2 separate regions of the Homo sapiens genome follow, and region 1 is linked to region 2. The links are contacts of gene promoters, found by promoter capture Hi-C in blood cells and fetal thymus (Javierre and others, 2016). All regions are on one chromosome and are shown on one strand. Each heading gives the region's core, a stretch centred on a gene start or on the middle of the fragment in contact. The rest is flanking DNA. Distances are from core to core; before and after follow the strand shown.

Region 1 (3,806 bases), core at 789-3,288, 110 kb before region 2:
AAGCTCTGCTTTCTTAAACTCCCCAAAATCACCTAATACAAGCACAAGTCCTATAAAATATTCCTCCTAACACTCTTACTGAGATACTCCACAGTTCGCATGGTGTGCATCCTCCCTCACAAGTAATGAACCAACGTGTTCAACTATAGGTGTGTTCCTAGTGGTCTGTGGCTGCAGGGCACTGACAAGGCCCACTCACTGACGGGAGCAATGTGTGAGACCACACCACAGAACAAGAAACCAGTTGTATCATTCAGTATATATGCAAACAGAATGGAGAGCATCAATTAGTCTGGAGAGGGTTAAGCAAGCTTCTACACATTTCCTTAGGTTAAATTCCTAGATGTAGAATTACTGGACCAAAAACATAAATATTTTCTTCTTTTTGAGACACGGTCTCACTTTGTTGCCCAGGCTGGAGTGCAGTGGCACGATCTTGGCTCATTGCAACCTCTGCCTCCTGGGTTCAAGCAATTCTCGTGCCTCAGACTCCCAAGTAGCTGGGATTACAGGCACGTGCCACTACGCTTAGGTAATTTTTGTATTTTTTGGTAGAGACAGGGTTTCACCACGTTGGTCAGGCTGGTCTCAAACTCCTGACCTCAAGTGGTCTGCCCACCTCGGCCTCCCGAAGTGCTGGGATTACAGGTGTGAGTCACCATGCCCAACCCCCAAAGCATAAACATTTTAAAGATTCTTCATCTTCAGGATCTCAGTCATAGGTAACATACACCAAGAATAGGCCGGTGCAGTGGCTCACGCCTGTAATCTCAGCACTTTGGGAGGATGAGGTGGGCAGATCACGAGGTCAGAGGATTGAGACCATCCTGGCTAACACGGTGAAATCCCGTCTCTACTAAAAATACAAAAAATTAGCCGGGCGTGGTGGTGAGTGCCTGTAGTCCCAGCTACTCGGGAGGCTGAGGCAGGAGAATGGCGTGAACCCGGGAGGCGGAGCTTTCAGTGAGCCGAGATTGCGCCACTGCACTCCAGCCTGGGCGACAGAGCAAGACTCCGTCTCAAAAAAAAACACACCAAGAATACATAATGTCAATTTATTTATTTATTTATTTATTTATTTTTGAGATGGAGTCTCGCTCTGTCGCCCAGGCTGGGGTGCAGTGGCGCTATCTCTGCTCACCGCAAGCTCCGCCTCCCGGGTTCACGCCATTCTCCTGCCTCAGCCTCCCGAGTAGCTGGGACTACAGGCGCTAGCCACCACTCCTGGCTAATTTTTTGTATTTTTAGTAGAGATGGAGTTTCATCGTGTTAGCCAGGATGGTCTCGATCTCCTGACCTCGTGATCCGCCTGCCTCAGCCTCCCAAAGTGCTGGGATTACAGGCGTGAGCCACCGTGCCTGGCCACGTCAATTTATTCTTACACTTGATCTGGACTTCAGTTTTACTAGCTTATACACAATTTATCAATTTCAGGAGTCTTATTCCATTTGTAATAAAATATAAAACAAGAATATATATGTATACAAATGTATAATATAGCTATTACTAAATTTAAATGCTTTTTATACGTATGTAACTATAGGCAGGTGAAAAAGTTTAAAAGCATACAAAGCCCAGTATAAAAGCAATGCATTATACTTTTTCTTCCTTCTGTAATGTTACACTTTTTTCTGGTTTAAAAAAATTATATAACATATTTTAAGATACAACATTTTAATCACTTAACAGTTTCATTTATAGTAAAGACTATAGTGACCACTTCAGAACATTCTGACTACATAATGTTTTCTCCTTGAGTTTTAAAAAAAACGCTTAATTGTGGGGGGATAAAAAAAAGCATTTACCATCTTAGCTATTTTAAAGTGCACAGTTCACTATTTTTAAGTATATTCACATTGTTGTGCAACCAATCTCCAGAACTTTTTCATCTTGCAAAACTAAAATTTTATACCCATTAAGCATTTCCTCCTTCCCTAATCTTTGGCAACTTCTATTCTACTTTGTTTTTATGAATTTGACTACTCTGGATAGATAACTCATATAAGTGGAATCAGACAGTACTTTTCTTTTTGTCACTGGATTACTTCACTTAGTATAATGCCCTCAAGGTTCGTCCATGTTGTAGCATCTGCCAGAATTTTTCTTTAAAACGTAAATATTCCACTGTACGTTTATATCACATTTTGTTTATCTATTCATCTATTGAAGGACACTTGAGTTGCTTCCACCTTTTGGTTGCTGTTAATAATGCTGCTACAAACATGAGTGTACAAATATCTCTTCAAGACCCTGCTTTCAATTCTGTTGGTTATATGCCCACAAGTAGAACTGCTAGATCAACATGGTAACTCTATTTTTAATTTTTTGAGGAACTTCCATACCGTTTTCCACAGCAGCTGCACTATTTTACATTCCCACCAACAGCGCATAAGGGTTCCAATTTCTCTACATCCTCATCAACACTTGTTGTTTTCTCTTTTTTTAACAGTACCCATTCTAACCGGTATGAGGGTAATACTTCACTGTGGTTTTGACTTGCATTTCCCTAATGATTAGTGATGTTGAACATCTTTTCATATGCTTGTTGTCCATTTTTATATCTTCTTTGGAGAAATTTCAAGCCCTTTGCCCAGTTTTTAAAAAGTTTTTAGAGACAGGGTATCGCTATGTTGCCCAGACTGGTCTTGAACTCCTGGCGTCTAAGTGACCCTCCCACCTAGGTCTCCCAAAATGCTGGGATTACAGGTATGGCCACTGCAACTGGTCCTTTACCCATTTTTAAATTGGGCTATTTTGTTGTTTTTGTTGAGTTATAGGAGTTGTTTGTGTATTCTGGGTATTAATCCCTTATCAGATATAAGATTTGCAAACATTTTTCTCCCATTCCATAGGCTGCCTTTCATTCTGTTACTGTTTGATGCACAAAAGTTTTTAATTTTGATGTATTCTAATTTATGTTTAATTTATGATGTACAGTAATTTATGTTTAATTGTTTTACTTTTGTTGCCTGTACTTTTGATGTCATGCCAAGAAACCACTGCAAAATCCAATGTCATGAAGCCTTTCCTCCATATTCTTTATCTTTTCTTTTTTCTTTTTTTTGAGACATAGTTTCGTTCTTGTTGCCTAGGCTGGAGTGCAATGGTGTGATCTTGGCTCACTGCAACTTCTGCCTCCCGGGTTCAAGCGATTCTCCTGCCTCCACCTCCCAAGTAGCTGGGATTATAGGCATGCGCCACCATGCCCAGCTAATTTTTTTTTTTTTTTTTTTTTTTAGTAGAGACGGGGTTTCACCATATTGGTCAGGGCTGGTCTTGAATTCCTAACCTCAGGTGATCCGCCCGCCTCGGCCTCCCAAAGTGCTGGCATTACAGGTGTGAGCCACTGTGCCCGGCCTTCCTCCATATTCTTATGGGAAGGTTTCTAATGCAAGGTTTAGATCTTGCATTTAGGTCTTTGATCCATTTTGAGTTAATTTTTGCAGATGGTGTAAGATAAGGACCCAATTTCATTCTTTTACATGTGGATATCTAGCTTTTCCAACACCATTTGTTGAAAAGACTGTTCTTTCTCCCACTGAATGGTCTTGGCACCCTTGTTGAAAAATCACTACCTTTTAAATGTACATTTACATTTGAATATGAGCATCTTGAACACACTATAGGATGAAAGCTACACCATATCATACAGAAAAAAAATTACTTTTTCATATGGGAGTAGAAAAGAACAAGAAAGGTAAATATTTTAACTGTAAAAGATTTCCTTTCAAAATATAAAAGCTGACAAACAAGGTTAATCACTAATAAGCTTCAGGTAATAAAAATGCATCTGATTCATTCCTGCT
Region 2 (3,333 bases), core at 189-2,688:
AAGGGATCAGGGCCAGGTAGGTGAACACCTGTTCTGGTGCAGCATGCTCAGCACTGGCTGTGGGCGTGGCCCTAGTTTGGAGCTGGCCACTTGCCTGTTCTGCAACAGAGAGTGGGGACAGAAGTTGCGGGGAGACCCTGGTGGGGAAGAGGGAAGGGTCTGGTCTCACCTGCCCCATCCTAGTGGTGGGGATCAAGACCTCCACAGGTGGGCTCACATCCTCTGGGGTGGTGGCATCTTCTGACTCCAGAGGACCTCACAAGCCGCCTCATATCCCTGGGGAGGCTGAGAGGTGATACTTCCAAATTTAGCTGAAAGGCACAGACTTACCCACATTTTAATCCTGGAGTTTTAGAATGGTAAATCCGAATCCCTTTAGGTTACAAATGCAGAAACAGACTAAGGCAAAGGCGATCCCTTTCTCCTCCAAGGTCACTCTGGTTAGAAGGGTCTGGAGCCCCAGTTACTAGATGCTGTCATTGTTCTGCCGCCAAGTCCTTAAAGAATGGCAGAACATGACTTAAACCACCTGCTAAGTACAAGATTCTATGCTGGAGATGCAAAGGTAGCTGTCCTCAAGAGCACTTTGTCAAACAGGTAAACTTCAGGGCAACATGCAGATGCTGGAAAAGGGTGGATTTGCCTCAAGAGTCTGTGCATGCTTTCTAAGATACTCCCCTCCTTTTCATCCTCTGATGCGGGGAGGGAACCCTACCTGAAGAAACACCCCAAGGCCCAGGGGTAGATCTAGGGTGGAGAGATCACATATGGGAGGGCCCGGAAAGAAAAGGAACAGGGTTGTCAATGGGCATACCCCAAACACCTCACCCAGAAATGCCCTAAGGCCCCAGCCCGGAAATGGACCTCTGCTGCCCTCTAATGGTGGAAAGGCAGCCTCTGGAGCTACCTGCTGGGGTCCCCCCTTAAAGAAGAGGAGATGTGAAGGACACTTCTGCCCTCTCCCCTTTTATTCCCCTTCTGTCTTATGCTTCATCTCCTGTGGTCTCTAAAGCAGAACCTTCTCTTTTTTTTTTTGAAATGGAGTCTTGCTCTGTCGCTTAGGTTGGAGTACAGTGGCGTGTCAGCTCACTGCAACCTCAACCTCCCAGGCTTAAGCGATTCTCCTGCCTCAGTCCCCTGAGTAGCTGGGATTACATGTGTGCGCCACAATGCCTGGCTAATTTTTTTGTATTTTTAATAGAGACAAGGTTTCACCATATTGGCCAGGCTGGTCTCGAACTGCTGACCTCAAGTGATCTGCCTGCCTTGGCCTCCCAAAGTGCTGGGATTACAAGTGTGGGCCATGGTGCCTGGCCCCATCTGTTCTCGAGCACTCCTGGCTGCCCCATTTCCTGACCACTGCCCTCCATCCCATTATCTCCCCAGTTTCCTTTGTTGCCTAGGTTCCAATTCTGGTACCCTGGTTCCTGACCCTGCCAGAGTTCTGGTTCCGGAAGGCCCCCCACAGGTGCCTTGGGCCTAGCTCTCACCTGGGCCCAGGGCAACACTGAAGACATGGGCAAGAGCATCCCCCAATACCTGGGGCAACTGGACATCCGCAAAAGCGTAGTCAGCCTGGCCACAGGCGCCGGGGCGATCTACCTGCTCTACAAGGCCATCAAGGCTGGCATAAAATGCAAACCACCCCTCTGTAGCAACTCACCCATCTGCATCGCCCGTGAGTGTCCGGGCCCTGGGGAGAGGGCTCTGCCCCAGGAGGCACCTGCTCCCGAGGCCTCTGCTGTGGGAGGGCCCAAAGGTGATGCCTCCAAGTTCCTCTTTCCTTTGTCTTTCTCTTGTCCATCTTCCTCAAGCCCACCCTGCAGCGTCCTAGGCAAGGCCCTGCCAGAGATGCTAGCTCAGGGTCCCTGGATCTCACTCAAGTGGATCCTCAGACTCATCTGGCAGGTCTCCAAATACTACATTTCCTCTGGCTCCCAGGATTCCACTTCTTGGAAACTTGGTGTCGGCAGCTCCCCCCATCCCTTTTCTGCCCTAGGAACGTGAGGCTTTAAGGAAAGGGAAGATTGGAGGACTTACTATATGCCCAGAGCTTCCACTAGTCCACATGTTCTTTTGTGCAGAGTAGGAAAATGAGCCCCTTCTGCAAGACTCTTTATTGCCATCTGCTGGAATATCATTGCCACATACTGGTTATGATGAAATACTACTTGTTACCGCCATATGCCAGACAGTTGTTAGAGTAAATGGACAAATCTATGATGGTACGTTATGGACAATACAACATTAGATAGGGTGCCCTTGTGCAGTAAACATTCGTTCAACTGTACATGGTGGTCCTGCATATGGCGAGAAGGCTTCTCCGAAAAGGCAAGGCAGCCTTGTCCCCAAGTCCCTGTCCCCTACTTCCCAACCCCATTCTTTCATCACTTCTGAGTCCACAGCCTGAACTGGGCTGGGGTGGCTGTCTAGGCCTGGCAGTCGAGCGAGAGCGGCACGGGCGGGACTCAGGTGAGCTCCGGAGGCTCCTCAACTCTTTGGAGTGCAAACAGGATGAGTATGCCAAGAGCATGATCCTGCACAGTATCACTCGCTGTGTGTACTTGCTGGAGGCTGAGGTAAGGGAAGCAGGAGGTCCCCCCTAGCCGGCCTGGCCCCTGGGGGTTACGGCCGATCCCTGCCCCTGGAATGGCCAGACTATATCCTGGGACCTCTCTCTGGCTGATAGCGGTGGGGGGGGGGTGTGCGGAGGGATCTTGGTGACATGGGGGGCAGTGGGCCCAGAACACCCGCTTCTCCTGCCTCTTCCATCTCTCCCCAATACTCCAGGCCTCTGCTTGTACTACGGATGACATCGTGTTGCTGGGCTACATGCTGGATGACAAGGACAACAGTGTCAAAACCCAAGCTCTGAATACACTTAAAGCTTTCTCTGGCATCAGAAAATTCAGGCTCAAAATCCAGGTGAGCCCAGGGATGCGTGGTGGGGCATGCAGGATGTCTATAGTCCTTAAGTCCTTTAATTGCCATAGGATAAATGGTCATGTTCCAGAAGTTTGTTTGGGTGTGAATTTGTAACCCAGAAATAAGTGGGAAAACGGTGGTCAGATTCCCAGCAGGGTCATGAAGGCCTTTGAATTTCAGGATGAAACTGAATTGAGGCACTAGTGGTATCTCTCAACCCCAAAGAGAAGGACCCCCACTACCCCACAAGCTCCCTACCACTGCCACGTTTTTTCTGACACCAATTCCCAACACTGGCTGGGTGTTCAACAATTCAATTCAGTTCAGACACTATCCATAGTTAGGGCAGACTTCACAGGTTAAGGGCTGAGTCCCCCAAGACTTCCCCCCGACTTCAGGTACCAATCA

What was found. The method cuts DNA at HindIII sites, captures the fragments that hold promoters and counts their contacts. A CHiCAGO score of 5 or more calls a contact.
Region 1: a fragment that was not itself captured here is called in contact with the fragment with the promoter of ARMC12 in region 2 in 8 of 17 cell types (naive CD4 T cells, non-activated CD4 T cells, activated CD4 T cells and 5 more); the score reaches 14.1 in naive CD4 T cells.

What each region holds. Positions count from the first base shown.
Region 1 is chr6:35,624,715-35,628,520 of GRCh38, forward strand. All of the region lies in intron 3 of FKBP5 (FKBP prolyl isomerase 5), which reads right to left. Among named protein-coding and RNA genes, the nearest start is that of MIR5690, 38 kb to the right of the region's middle. The HindIII fragment of the contact is 3,458 bases long and covers 310-3,767 here.
Region 2 is chr6:35,735,594-35,738,926 of GRCh38, forward strand. ARMC12 (armadillo repeat containing 12) reads left to right here and starts at 1,439. Exons shown (of 6, transcript NM_001286574.2): 1 at 1,439-1,678; 2 at 2,434-2,579; 3 at 2,791-2,925. The coding sequence starts at 1,516. It overlaps LOC285847 (a long non-coding RNA gene), which reads right to left and starts at 1,354. Exons shown (of 10, transcript NR_027117.2): 1 at 1,248-1,354; 2 at 170-285. RefSeq lists enhancers at 1,719-2,327, 2,328-2,936. The HindIII fragment of the contact is 11,422 bases long and covers 1-2,885 here.